2 separate regions of the Homo sapiens genome follow, and region 1 is linked to region 2. The links are contacts of gene promoters, found by promoter capture Hi-C in human tissues and cell types (Jung and others, 2019). All regions are on one chromosome and are shown on one strand. Each heading gives the region's core, a stretch centred on a gene start or on the middle of the fragment in contact. The rest is flanking DNA. Distances are from core to core; before and after follow the strand shown. Region 1 holds the start of DHDH (dihydrodiol dehydrogenase). Region 2 overlaps DBP (D-box binding PAR bZIP transcription factor).

Region 1 (6,680 bases), core at 1-2,500, 300 kb before region 2:
GGGTGGAAGGGAGGCAAAGGAGGAGGCTCTGGCCAGGGGAAGGGGAGACGTGGTCCTGGGGGAAGAGATGACGGGGGCTGGACATTTGGGCCCTGGGAAAGAGAGATCTGGGGGAAAGCCGTTATTAAATCCCCCAATATTGAAATTATCTTCATAGTAGCTTACATCAAGGCCTTTCCAAACCTCAAGACACTCAGGTTTGTGTGGGGAAAAGAAAGAGAGATCAGATTGTTACTGTGTCTATGTAGAAAAGGAATCTGTATCATGAATAAGTTCAAGGAAAGGTGCTGTGACCGGATGTGCACGTAGGCTAGATTTATGTTTCACTTTACACAAACATCTCAGTGTAGCAAAGAGTAACAGAGCAGTATCACTGCCAGCATATCTCGCCTCCAGCCACAGGTAGGTTTTCTCCTATCTCAGAATAGAAGGAATGGGAATGGTCCGCTTTACACTGAGACAGTCCATTCCCAGGGAGAGCAGGAGACAGAAGCCTTCCTCTTATCTCAACTGCAGAGAGGCCTCCCTCTTTCACTACTCCTCCTCAGCACAGACCCTTTACTGGTGTCGGGCTAGGGGATGTAAGGTCTTCCTTTCCCACGAGGCCATATCTCAGGCTTTCTCAGTGGGGGGAAACCCTGGACAATACCCAGGCTTTCTTGGGCAGAGGTCCCTGCGGCTTTCCGCAGTGCAATGTGCCCCTGGTTAATAGAGAATGGAGAATGGCGATGACTTTTACCAAGCATACTGCCTGCAAACATATTGTTAACAAGGCACATCCTGCAAAGCCCTAAATCCATTAAACTTTGATTCAATACAGGACATGTTTCTGTGAGCACACGGTTGGGGCTAAAGTTACAGGTTAATAGCATCTCAAAGCAGAAACAATTTTTCTTAGTACAGTTCAAAATGGAGTTTCTTATGTCTTCATTTTCTACGTAGACACAGTAACAATCTGATCTTTCTTTTCCCCACAGGTTTGCAGAACAGAGATGGAGAAGGAGGTAGCAAGGAAACAGACGTTTCACTGCAATGACGACCCACTCACTAGTCCTGAACCCTAAACTCCCTCCTCCTTTAGACTCTGGAGTCCCGCCCCCCGCCTCCTCTTCCCCAGAATCCGGAGGGCGGGCAGACCTGGTGCTCAGAGCGAGGCAGCGTCTGCAGCACGGCTGTGAAGTCGCTGGAGATGAGGCCGACAGACACGATGCCCCAGCGCAGCGCCATGGTTGCGATGCGGAGCCCTCGGCACCTTCGGTCCCTCCAGGCGCGAATTAAGTACCTGACGCCCCGCCCACCCCGGGGGCGGGTCCCCATCCTCCGCCCGTATTGCGCCTACGCCGATTCTCGTTGGCTCCAGTCGGCAGAGCGGTCATTTAGTTCTAGCTTCCCCGCTGGGCGAATGCACCGTTTAGCTCCGCCTTACAGAGGGAACCACACCTTGACGTCGCTTCTACAGATCTCTTACCTATGACTTTAGGCTCGTCGGATACGCGGGGTAAGGACAGCGTGGGGAGGAGAGGTTTGCTTTCTTGCCAACACCAATCCTTGAGAGTTAGATTTAATGTCTTGCCCTCTGGACTTTGTGGCAAAACTTTGCCCTGACTTTTTTGCTCTCAAAGCCACGCATCATTAGGGGTTGTTCACAGAGAGAGAGAGGATTGTAACAGCAAACTTAATAATTATTACTAATATGTATAGAGCACCTGTAGACCAGCTCCTCAGCTCTGCGCTTTACCTTCTTCGTTCCTAATTTCTCCCCGCAGACCTGGGAAGTAGCTTCTATTGTCCCCAGTTCACAAAGGGGGAAACAGACTCCAAGATCCCTGGTCATTTTTTGGAGGTCTCACAGTCAGGAGGTAAAGACCTGTGAATTGGCTGCTTCCAGAAGCTATAGTTTTAGAAACCAGGCTGCTTTGCTTGTTAGGAGCCCCAGAGCCTGGCCGACTGGTTTCAAAACCCTCCTTGCCCCTTCTTGGCTGTATTGCTTTTGGACAAGAGGTCGCCCTCTCTGGTCCTCACTTTTCTATTCTGGAAAGCAGAGATCATGATAACATCTACCTACATAGGGTTGTGAGGAGGATTCATTGAGCTCTATGGTCTATTATGTAAAATATACTGTATTATTATAATTATTATTGATATAGGGTCTCGCTCTGTCGCCCAGGAAGGAGTGCAGTGGCACAATCATAGCTCACTGCAGCCTCAAATTCCTTAGCTCAAGGAATTAGCTCCTGCCTTAGCCACCCTAGTACCTGGGACTACAGTAGCTGGGACCCAAAGTAGCTACTGGCTACTACACCTGGCTAATTATTTTGTTTTATTTATTAATTATTTTAGAGATAGGGTCTCACTCTGTTACCTAGCTGGACTGCAGTGGCGTGATAATAGCTCACAGCAGCCTTGTACTCCTGGGCTCAAGCTATCTTCCCGCCTCAGCCTCCTGAGTAGCTGGGAGTATAGGCATGTGCCCCACTTACCGCTATTTGTTTGTTTGTTTGTTTGAGACGGAGTCTCACTCTATCCCCAGGCTGGAGTGCAGTGGTGTGATCTCAGCTCACTGCAACCTCCGCCTCCCTGGTTCAAGTGATTCTCCTGCCTCAGCCTCCTGAGTAGCTGGGACCACAGGCGCCCTCCACCATGCCCAGCTAATTTTTTTTATTTTTAGTGGAGACAGGGTTTCACCATGTTGGCCAGGATGGTCTCGATCTCCTGACCTTGCGATTTGCCTGCCTTGGCCTCCCAAAGTGCTGGGATTACAAGCATGAGCCACTGCACCCAGCCTGCTAATTTTTGTTGCTGTTGTTGTTTGTTTTTTGTTTTTGAGACGAAGTCTCGCTCTGTCATCCAGGCTGGGGTGATCATGCAGTGGCATAATCTTGGCTCACTGCAACCTCCACCTCCCAGTTTCAAGCAATTCTCCTACCTCAGCCTCCCGAGTAGCTGGGATGACAGGCGCCCACTACCACGCCCGACTAATTTTTGTATTTTTACTAGAGATGGGGTTTCACTGTGTTGGCCAGGCTGGCCTCGAATTCCTGACCTCAGGTGATCCGCCTGCCTTGGCCTCCCAAAGTGCTGAGATTACCTGCATGAGCCACCATGCCCAGCAATTTTTTGTACAGAAAAGGTCTCACTTTGTTGTCCAGGCTGGTCTCCAATTCCTGGGCTCAAGCAATCCTCCTGCCTCAGCCTCCCAAAGTGCTGGGATTATAGGTATGAGACACTGTGTCCAGTCGATTTTTAAACTTTTTATCAAGGCAGGGTCTTGCCAAGTTTCCCAGGCTGGTTGGGACATGATAATTCCTAACTGGCTGGCCAGCTTCACACAGGGCAGGATATTGTCACTTTCTCTTACTTGGTAGACAATAATTAAGACCTGAGTGTCACACATGGATTCACAGACTTCAAGTTTACACAAACTGCTGAATAGAAACACAAATGGGACCAGGCACGGTGGTTCACGCCTGTAATCCCAGTACTGTGGGAGGCCCAAATGGGAGGAATGCTTGAAGCCAGGACTTTGAGACCAGCCTGGGCAACAAAGCAAGACCCCATCTCTACCAAAAAAAAAAAGTGGGGGGAGGGGGCAGGGCATAGTGGCTCATGCCTGTAATCCTAGCACTTTGGGAGGCCGTGGTGGGCGGATCACTTAAGGTCAGGAGTTCGAAACCAGCCTGGCAAACATGGTGAAACCCCCATCTCTACTAAAAATACAAAATAATTAGCCAAGCATGGTGGCGGACGCCTGCAATCCCAGCTTCTTGGGAGGCTGAGGCAGGTAAATTGCTTGAACCTGGGAGGAGGAGGTTGCAGTGAGCCAAGATCGCACCACTGCTCTCCAGCCCGGGTGACAGAGAGAGACTCTGTCTCAAAAAAAAAAAAAAAAAAAAAAAAAGGTTTAGGGGGAGGGAAATCCACATAGGACACAATATCATTACTATGAAGAAAAAGAAAAAATCATTTAATAATAAATATCAAAAAATAATTTTGATACTCCCAGGTATTTGTCCTAGAAAGAAAAAATAACATGTTTGCACACAAACCAGTGCACAGGTGTTAGCAGCTGTACATAGCTCAAGCCCAAATGTCCTTTAAGCTGCCAGTGGATTCAACAAAATACTACTCAGCGGCCAGGCACAGTGGCTCACACCTGTAATCCCAGCACTTTGGGAGGCCAAGATGGGTGGATCACCAGGTCAGGAGATCAAGACCATCCTGGCTAACACGGTGAAACCCCATCTCTACTAAAAATACAAAAAATTAGCCAGGCGTGGTGGCGGGCACCTGTAGTCTGGAGGCTGAGGCAGGAGAGTGGCGTGAGCCTGGGAGGCAGAGGTTACAGTGAGCCGAGATCACACCACTGCACCCCAGCCTGGGCAACAGAGGAAGACCCGGTCTAAAAAAAAAAATATATATATATAATATATATATATATTTTTTTTTTGAGATGAAGGTTTGCTCTGTCACCCAGGCTGGAGTGCAGTGGTTCGATCTCAGCTCACTGCAAGCTCTGCCTCCCGGGTTCACGCCATTCTCCTGCCTCAGCCTCCCAAGTAACTGGGACTACAGGCGCCCACCACCACGCCTGGCTAATTTTTTGTATTTTTAGTAGAGACAGGGTTTCACTGTGTTAGCCAGGATGGTCTTGATCTCCTGACCTCGTGATCCGCCCTCCTCGGCCTCCCAAAGTGCTGGGATTACAGGCGTGAGCCACTGCGCCCGGCCTAAAATTATTACTTTCTTATTGCTGCACTCCAGCACCTCAGAGGAGGCAAAAAGGTAAACACTGAAAAGAAAATATGCCGGGCACGGTGGCACATGCCTGTAATCCCAGCACTTTGGGAGACTGTGGCGGGCAGATCTCTTGAGCCCAAGAGTTCGAGACCAACCTGCAAAAAATTAGCCAGGTGTGGTGGTGTGCATCTGTATTCCCAGCTACTAGGGAGGCTGAAGCGGGAGGATCGCTTGAGCTGGGAAGGTTGAGGCTGCAGTAAGCTATGATGGCACCTCTGTACTCCAGCCTGGGCAACAGAGTGAGACTCTGTCTCAAAAAAGAAAAAAGAGGGCGGGCGTAGTGGCTCACGCCTGTAATCCCAGCACTTTGGGAGGCCGAGGCGGGCGGATCACCTGAGGTCAAGAGTTTGAGACCAGCCTGGCCAACAGGGTGAAACCCCATCTCTACTAAAAATACAAAAATTAGCTGGGCGTGGTGGTGTGCACCTGTAATCCCAGCTACTTGGGAGGCTGAGGCACTGGAATCGCTTGAACCCAGGAGGCAGAGCTTGCAGTGAGCCGAGATCACGCCACTGCACTCTAGCCCGGGCAACAGAGTGAGACTCTGTTGCCCAGGAAAAAAAAGAAAAAAAAAAAAAAGAAAAAGAAAAAAGAAGAAAAAGAAAATGCTGTGGGGCGCTGCCATGTGGAAAGACATTTGGGAAAGGCTAAAAGAACCCACTGCACACTTAATGGTATATCACATGTCAGTACCCGGTCAGACTCGCCTCTGGTAACATGGAGGTAGACACTCTAGCAAGAATTAGAACACTGGGTCCCTCACAATCCTCAAGGGCTTGGAGCAACTCAGTATTGTGTATAGACTGCAGATTTCCCTTACCATATAATCTTCAAGTGGCAGGATTGATTAAAAAGAAAAATGGCCAGGCGCGGTGGCTTACGCTTGTAATCCCAGCACTTTGGGAGGCCGAGGTGGTCGGATCACGAGGACAGGAGATCAAGACCATCCTGGCTAACACAGTGAAACCCCATCTCTACTAAAAATACAAAAAATTAGCCGGGCATGGTGGCGGGCGCCTGTAGTCCCAGCTACTCAGGAGGCTGAGGCAGGAGGATGGCGTGAACCCGGGAGGCAGAGCTTGCAGTGAGCCGAGATCACGCCACTGCACTCCAGCCTGGGTGACACAGCAAGACTCTGCCTCAAAAAAAAAAAGAAAGAAAGAAAGAAAGAAAAATGGCATTTAAAAAAATTTTTTTGCAGGTTTTATTTATTTATTTATTTATTTGAGACAAAGTCTGGCTCTGTTGCTCCAGCCTGGGTGACAGCGCCACACTCCGTCTCAAAAAAAAAACAGAAAATAAAATTTTTTTTTGTAGAGATGGTGTCTCACCATGTTGCCTAGGCTGGCCTCCAACTCTTGGGCTGAAGTGATCCTCCCACCTCGGCCTCCCAAAGCACTAGGCATGAGCCACCAAGCCTGGCCCAACTATCCATTATGCATAGTTGTAAAGCAAGTCTGGCCAGACGCATTTATACTGGAGCTGATAAAAGGCCAATGGTAAACACTATTTAGGATTTCCCAGAATCTTGAGCCAAGGGGAGGGGTTGGACTGGCAAATTCCCCAGACTGGATAGGGTGTTTCTTGTCAGAGGGCAAGAATTTCTCGGGCAGCTGCAGTGGTCTCCCTTGATCCTCTTGGGGTTGGGGCCAAAACAATCCACTTACCCCTACACTAGAACATGGTCCCTTTTTTTTTTTTTTTTTTTTTGGACGGAGTCTTGCTCTGTCACCCAGGCTGGAGTGCAGTGACACAATTTCAGCTCACTGCAACTTCCGCCTCCTGGGTTCAAGCGATTCTCCTGCCTCATGAGTAGCTGGGATTACAGGCGCCCATCACCACACCCAGCTAATTTTGTATTTTTAGTAGAAATGCGGTTTTAC
Region 2 (6,612 bases), core at 3,016-5,515:
GCTGCTTGGGTTGCGGAGCCTTCTGCAGGGGACCAGCAAGCCCAAAGAGCCGGCCAGCTGTGAGTTCTAACCCCCATCTCACCCACTTCGGACACCCTACCCCCTTAGGGACTCAGGTGCCGTGGGGTGGGGTCCCATAGAAACCTGCGTGCGGGGAGTCCATCTTCCCAACCTTAATCTACTCAATTACTCAGGTGTTTAGGCCCCTAGATCCCTTAGCGCCCAGGACCCAAAAGCGCCGGCTCTGAAGCCCGTCCACCCTAAGGACCCAGGCACCAACGTCCCCAACGTCCTCCCCGCTTAGTTCACAAGAGTGTAGGCCCCAGCCTCCTCTTCCTTTTGGTCCGGGAGTCTGGACCCCTGGGGTCCCAGGGAGGGGGTGTGTCGGGTGCTCACACGGTGGTGACACGGGCTTGGGCGGGGCGTCATGGGGTCACATGGAGTCTAGGGATGAGGGATGTGCCCCAGGAATAGAGCCCCTTCCTGCCCCTTACAGATGGTGGGGGAGGGGAAGGGGGTACAGCGCGCAGGGGATGGGGGTTGGGTAATTACAGTGAAATTACAGAGCTGTCATTTTTTCTCTCACCTGCCCAACCCTCCACCTACCCTGTCCCTGCCCCCCTATTCCTGAACTTCCGTCTCTCTTTCTCTGGTTCGCTGTCTTTCTGTGTGTCTATTCCTTCCCGGCATTCTGTCCCCATCTCTGTGAATCTGTCCACCTGTCTCTGCCACCCCCGTCTCCATTCTTTCTGGGTCTCTCTCCCACTCTGCGTCTCCGTCCCTTTTTCTCCCGTCTCTCCTCTCCGACCCCCCGTCCCCTCTTTCTCTGGATCTCCGCCCTGTGCCTCTCGGACTCGGGGTCTCTTCTCCATCTCTATCTCCCCCACCTCACCCTCATCCCAACCCGTCTTTCCCGGCCCGCAGGTCTCCTGAAGGAAAAGGAGCGCAAGGCGGCCCTGCCTGCAGCCACAACCCCTGGGCCAGGCCTGGAGACTGCGGGCCCGGCGGATGCCCCGGCTGGGGCAGTGGTGGGCGGAGGGTCCCCGCGGGGGCGCCCGGGGCCGGTGCCCGCCCCGGGTCTGTTGGCGCCACTGCTGTGGGAGCGCACGCTGCCGTTCGGCGATGTGGAGTACGTAGACCTGGACGCCTTCCTGCTGGAGCACGGGCTCCCGCCCAGCCCGCCGCCCCCCGGTGGCCCGTCGCCGGAGCCGTCGCCCGCGCGGACGCCCGCACCCTCCCCAGGGCCGGGTTCGTGCGGCTCGGCTTCCCCCCGCTCCTCTCCTGGGCACGCCCCCGCCCGGGCTGCCCTCGGGACCGCCAGCGGCCACCGCGCAGGTGCGGCGAAGGGGGCGGGGCGGGTCCTGACGGGGCGGGGCTTGGACTCAGGGGGCGGGGCTGTGCGACGCTGGGGGCTGGGACCGTGGGACCTGGCTGCGGCCTCGAATTCTGTGTCCAGTTGTCGAGAGGTGTCGTGGGAGGGGGCCAGATTCGGTGTCTCTTAATGGGTCAGGGACCAATGGATCCATGGGGGAGGAGAGACTTGGAACCCTAAATTCCAGGAAGCCTGCCCAATGAGATTTTGTGGGTTTTTCTGTGGGACTTGGGGACAAACGATGTGGATACTCGTGAAGCCAGAACTGGAAGTCCGGAACACCAGAGTTATTTACTGGGGAGTGGACTGACCCCCGAATCTGGGCCCATAATCGATGGAACTGGGATAGGACTGGAGCCCCTAGGTCCTTTACAGGGGCAAAGGCAAAGGAGAGGCACAGAATTCTGTTTACCCAGGACATAAGAGACTGGCAGCCCAGGTCCCTGGGTCCCCCAGTGGGGCGTGCTGCAGCCCCGGGTCCCAGAGTTCTTCAGAAGGGAAAACGTTAGGGATGTTGTTTCTGGATCCTCCAATTGGGGCTGGGGCCAAGCTTCCTATATTCCTAGGAGAGGCCTGGGATCCCAGAATCGTGGTAGCCCAGTGGCGGGGGTTCTGGGAAGGTCCAGGAGGCCGATGCTCCCCGGAGAGCAGGGGGTTGGGAATCTTTGGAGGTTGAGTGGAACTAAGTGACTGGAAGAGCAAGAGGAAAGATGTTTCCCTTTGGGCACATTGAGGTCTCCAGGGACGGACTGCAGGTCGGGGATTCCTGGGCACACCTGCTCCAGGTCCGACCTCCGGGCCGAACCAGGGCCCTACCCTTCCCAGCGGCACATTCCTGCGCCACGTGAGTCCTCCCATCCCTCCTCCGCGCTTCGCGCAGGCGCCTTCAAGCGCGAGGGGGGCGGGGCCGGGGGAACGTGAGGGCGCCGATGGCGGGGGCCTGGGAGGAAGGGAGGAGGAGGGAAGCAGGCGTCAGCACGTGACTCGGCCCTGAACCTGTGTCCTTAGCTGGCCCCGGCTGGCTGGTGCTTAAAGGTACAGGCGCCTCCTTTCGAACCAATCTTCTGGAACCTTAGAGCAGCTTCTCCTCCTCTTTCCAGCGAGTAGCTCTTAGACTCTAACTTGAGAGCTTTTCAGTGCAGTAGATTCTTTTTCTCTGGACAGTCTGGGGTCTAAGCTTAGGTCGTGGATTCGGTAAGTAGGATTCAGGCTAGACTGTGCATCTGAAGTCCTGAGGTTTTAGAAGCAATAGCCCCATCGCTTCTCGGCCTTTTGGCTAAGATCAAGTGTAGAAGCAATAGCCCTGATTCGTGTGTTACCTAGGGCAAGTCAGTTATGACTGGGACTCAGTTTCCTTGTTTGTAAAGGTGGATATGGCTCCATGATCTCTAAGCATCTTTATGGCTTAGGGGAACCTTCATTTTTCTCGTTATTTTGGAGACGGAGTCTCGCTCTGTTGTCCGGGCTGGAGTGCAGTGGTATGATCTCAGCTCACTGCAACCTCCACCTCCAGGGTCCGGGTTCAAGCAATTCTCCAGCCTCAGCCTCCCTAGTAGCTGGGCTTACCGGCACCCGCCACTACACCTGGGCAATTTTCGTACTTTTAGTAAAGATGAGGTTTCTCCATGTTGGCCATGCTGGTCTTGAACTCCTGACTAAAGGTGATTCGCCGCCTCGGCTTCCCAAACTGCTGGGGTTACAGGCGTGAGCCACTGCGCCTGGCCAAGGGAACCTTCATATTTTATATTAGGGAGATTAATCCCTGGCCGAATTTATGCTAGATCCCAGAAGGACTTTCCATGTGGCTATGATACCACAGCAAAAAGTAGCTTCAGGAAACCCCCTCCTTAAAATACACACTCAGCTGACACGTGCTGTTTCCCCAAGGCCTGACCTCTCGGGACACACCCAGCCCTGTGGACCCAGACACCGTGGAGGTGTTGATGACCTTTGAACCCGACCCAGCTGATCTTGCCCTATCAAGCATTCCTGGCCACGAGACCTTTGACCCTCGAAGACATCGCTTCTCAGAAGAGGAACTTAAGCCCCAGCCAATCATGAAGAAGGCAAGAAAAATCCAGGTGCCGGAGGAGCAGAAGGTGAGCAGAGCTGGATGTGGGAGATAGACTTGGCTGGAGACATGCCCCACAGCCAGGGAGGGGCCTTTTCTCACAGTCAAGCCTGGGCTTCTCCTTGGGATTAGTGCTCAGCCTCTCCTGGCCTGCAGCCACAGATTAGTCCTCCTTGGCCACGGGGCACAAGGGGGCAGGGGCCTGAGGTTTATAAAGACAGTGTCAACTGGGCGAGGGGCCTCACTCGTGTAATCCCAGCATTTTAGGGGGCTGAGGCAGGAGGATCTCTTGAGCTCGGGAGTTCAAGACCAGCCTGGGCAACATGGCAAAACCCCATTTCTACAAGCCACTTGGGAGGCTGAGGTGGGAGGACTGCTTGTGCCTGGGAGATTGAGGCTGCAGTGAGCCAAGATTACACCACTGCACTCCAGCCTGGGCAACAGAGGGAGACCTTGTCTTAAAACAAAAGACAGTGTCACTGTGGGGTGCTGACTCAGCCAGCTCTGCTAGGTCTACTTGTAGAGACTTGGAGCTTCTCCTATTACTTGGGTCCAGAGCTCCACCAGGCACACTTGCAAAGGACAGTCTTCCTTTGGCAATGGGATATCAGCCTGTGGCCTGTCTCTCCTTACTCAGCAGGCCTTTGATCTCTGATGTGGGACTTCCTTTGGAGTGATTGCATTTGGCTAGGATGAAGACTGTGCCAGCCCCTTTAGGCCTTGTTTCCTGGGCCTGGACTTCTCACTGGTGGGAGACTTCAGGCTTCTGTTAGCAGCCAGTGCCACTTTCTGATTTGGGGTGATTTGAGCAGTCATTGCATCTTTGCATGATTTTGTTTTTTGCCATTACTGGAGTCTTCCCTAGCAAGAGTTGCTTGGGCTTCTGTTACAAGACTTTGTCATTCCGGGCCAGGCGCGTTGGCTCACGCCTGTAATCCTAGCACTTTAGGAGGCTGAGGTGGGCGGATCACTTGAGGTCAGGAGTTTGAGACCAGCCTGGCCAACATGGTGAAACCTCGCCTCTACTAAAAGTACAAAAATGTTCCGGGTGTGGTGTCTCACACCTGTAATCACAGCACTTTGGGAGGCCGAGGCGGACAGATCACGAGATCAGGAGACCATCCTGGCCAACATGGTGAAACCCCGTCTCTACAAAAAAATACAAAAATTAGCTGGGCATGGTGGCACTCATCTGTAGTCCCAGCTACTTGGGAGGCTAATGTAGGAAAATCGCTTGAACCCAGGAGACGGAGGTTGCAGTGAGCCGAGATCGCGCCACTGCACTCCAGCCTGGGCGACAGAGTGAGAACTCCATCTCAAAAAAAAAAAAAAAGAACAAAAATTAGCCGGACATGGTAGCGGGCACCTATAATCCCAGCTACTTGGGAGGCTGAGGCAGGAGAATCGCTTGAACCTGGGAGGTGGAGGTTGCAATGAGCCGAGATCATGCCACTGCATTCCAGCCTGAACGACAGAGCGAGACTCCATCTCAAAAACAAACAAGACTTTGCCATACCCTTGCGTAACACATAGCTACTTGAAGCACCTAGGACTGGCCTGGAAGTCAGATCTACACCAGTGGTTTCTCCTTCTAGAGGGCCCTGTTGCTAGGGACTGGATTTACCCTCACAAGCAGGAACTGGGCTTTAATTAAATAGTGGAGTAGAGAGCATCTTTCTGAGCCCCGTGGTCCTTGGTTACTAAGGAGGAGTCTTCCTTAGGAACCAACTTCCAGGATGGGAGGACTTTAGGTATAATCCTCTGGGGAGGTCTCAGGATAGTCCCCTTTCCTAAGAGACAGCTCTTCTCTCAGTCAGGTCCTACTGGGGAGGAGGCTATTCTCTGGCCTCAGTTCAAGGCCAGCAGGTCAGAGGCTGGCCACAGTCATTGAAACCACTTAGACCTCACTTTTGTTTGCCAAGGATGGATGAGGTTGCCTTGGCAACCAGGTCAGAAGGCCCCAGCTCTGCGAGGATTTTATGGGACACCAAACCCCATCACCAGGGCACCAAGCTTTCCTTAGCAACCAGGATCTGGAAAGGCAATGTGCAGGGCAGGGCAGTGCTCTTCATTGGGAGAAGCCCTCAGACCATGAAGGCCTTGTTGCTAGGGAACAAGCATCCTTAGCAAGCAAGAGCTAACTGCATGCAGGCCTTTATCATGTGGGGAGGGCTGGGGTCCGCTTTGCAGAGTGGAGACTTGAAGCGAGTTGCTTGAGGGTGGGGGGTCTATCTCATGCCTTTACTGTTGCTAGGGGCCCAATCTCCTTAGCAACCAGGGCCCTAGAAAGGCAGACCCTTGGGTACCTATCCCAGCAGAGACCTGGTGTGGTTTAGGCCCCGCTGCTGGGGCTCCCTTCCTCTCTCGCTGGGACCTGGGTCCCTCTGGACCTCAGTGCTCTCCCCCTCTTCTCCTGCAGGATGAGAAATACTGGAGCCGGCGGTACAAGAACAACGAGGCAGCCAAGCGGTCCCGTGACGCCCGGCGGCTCAAGGAGAACCAGATATCGGTGCGGGCGGCCTTCCTGGAGAAGGAGAACGCCCTGCTGCGGCAGGAAGTTGTGGCCGTGCGCCAGGAGCTGTCCCACTACCGCGCCGTGCTGTCCCGATACCAGGCCCAGCACGGGGCCCTGTGAGGCTGCCCCACATCCCCACCTGGCGGAGCTCTCCTCCGCCTTGCTGAGACTTACGCCCTGTTCCCTTCCTGCCCTGTGGCCCACGGGCCGGCCAGCTGGGTGCCCCAGGGACGTGATAATGCAGATAAATACATTTATATTTTTAAGAAAAAGCGAGCCTCCCCCCTCCCTTGCGGGGGCGGGGAGGGTTCTCTGTGTGTGTCCCCGGCACGTCAGGGACCCTATCCTCCCACCGCCTCCGTTAACACGATCCTGAATAAATCTTGAGAACCCCAGAGCCAGCTGTTGTGGAAGAAGAGGGCAGCTCCCTGGCATACTGGCTGCAGCCCGTGGGCAGCTCCGGGCTGTCGTCCATAGAGGGCAGGCGCTGCTGGAAGTGCTGGAGTCTGAGTCCTCCCGCGGGCTGTCGGATGGAGGAAGGGCAGAAGGTCTGAGAGGAATGAAGCGACTGCCTTTATTGCATAGACCTTTTCAATTGCTTTTTAGATTGGGGACGGAGGACGCGCATGAGACGAACAGGGGATATGAATTTCC

What was found. The method cuts DNA at HindIII sites, captures the fragments that hold promoters and counts their contacts. A contact is called where the count stands out against the background at its distance.
Region 1: a contact is called between the fragment with the promoter of DHDH here and a fragment that was not itself captured in region 2, in 3 of the 25 tissues and cell types used here (aorta, dorsolateral prefrontal cortex and thymus).

The regions. Positions count from the first base shown.
Region 1 is chr19:48,928,269-48,934,948 of GRCh38, reverse strand. DHDH (dihydrodiol dehydrogenase) reads right to left here and starts at 1,250. Exons shown (of 7, transcript NM_014475.4): 1 at 1,138-1,250. The coding sequence starts at 1,227. RefSeq lists an enhancer at 1,176-1,677. The HindIII fragment of the contact is 30,682 bases long and covers 1-6,680 here.
Region 2 is chr19:48,630,303-48,636,914 of GRCh38, reverse strand. DBP (D-box binding PAR bZIP transcription factor) reads left to right here. Exons shown (of 4, transcript NM_001352.5): 1 at 1-59; 2 at 925-1,335; 3 at 3,260-3,471; 4 at 5,863-6,612. The coding sequence ends at 6,078. It overlaps SPHK2 (sphingosine kinase 2), which reads right to left. Exons shown (of 7, transcript NM_020126.5): 7 at 6,510-6,612. Among named protein-coding and RNA genes, the nearest start is that of DBP, 3.8 kb to the left of the region's middle. RefSeq lists silencers at 985-1,044, 1,165-1,474, 2,185-2,364. The HindIII fragment of the contact is 4,057 bases long and covers 2,237-6,293 here.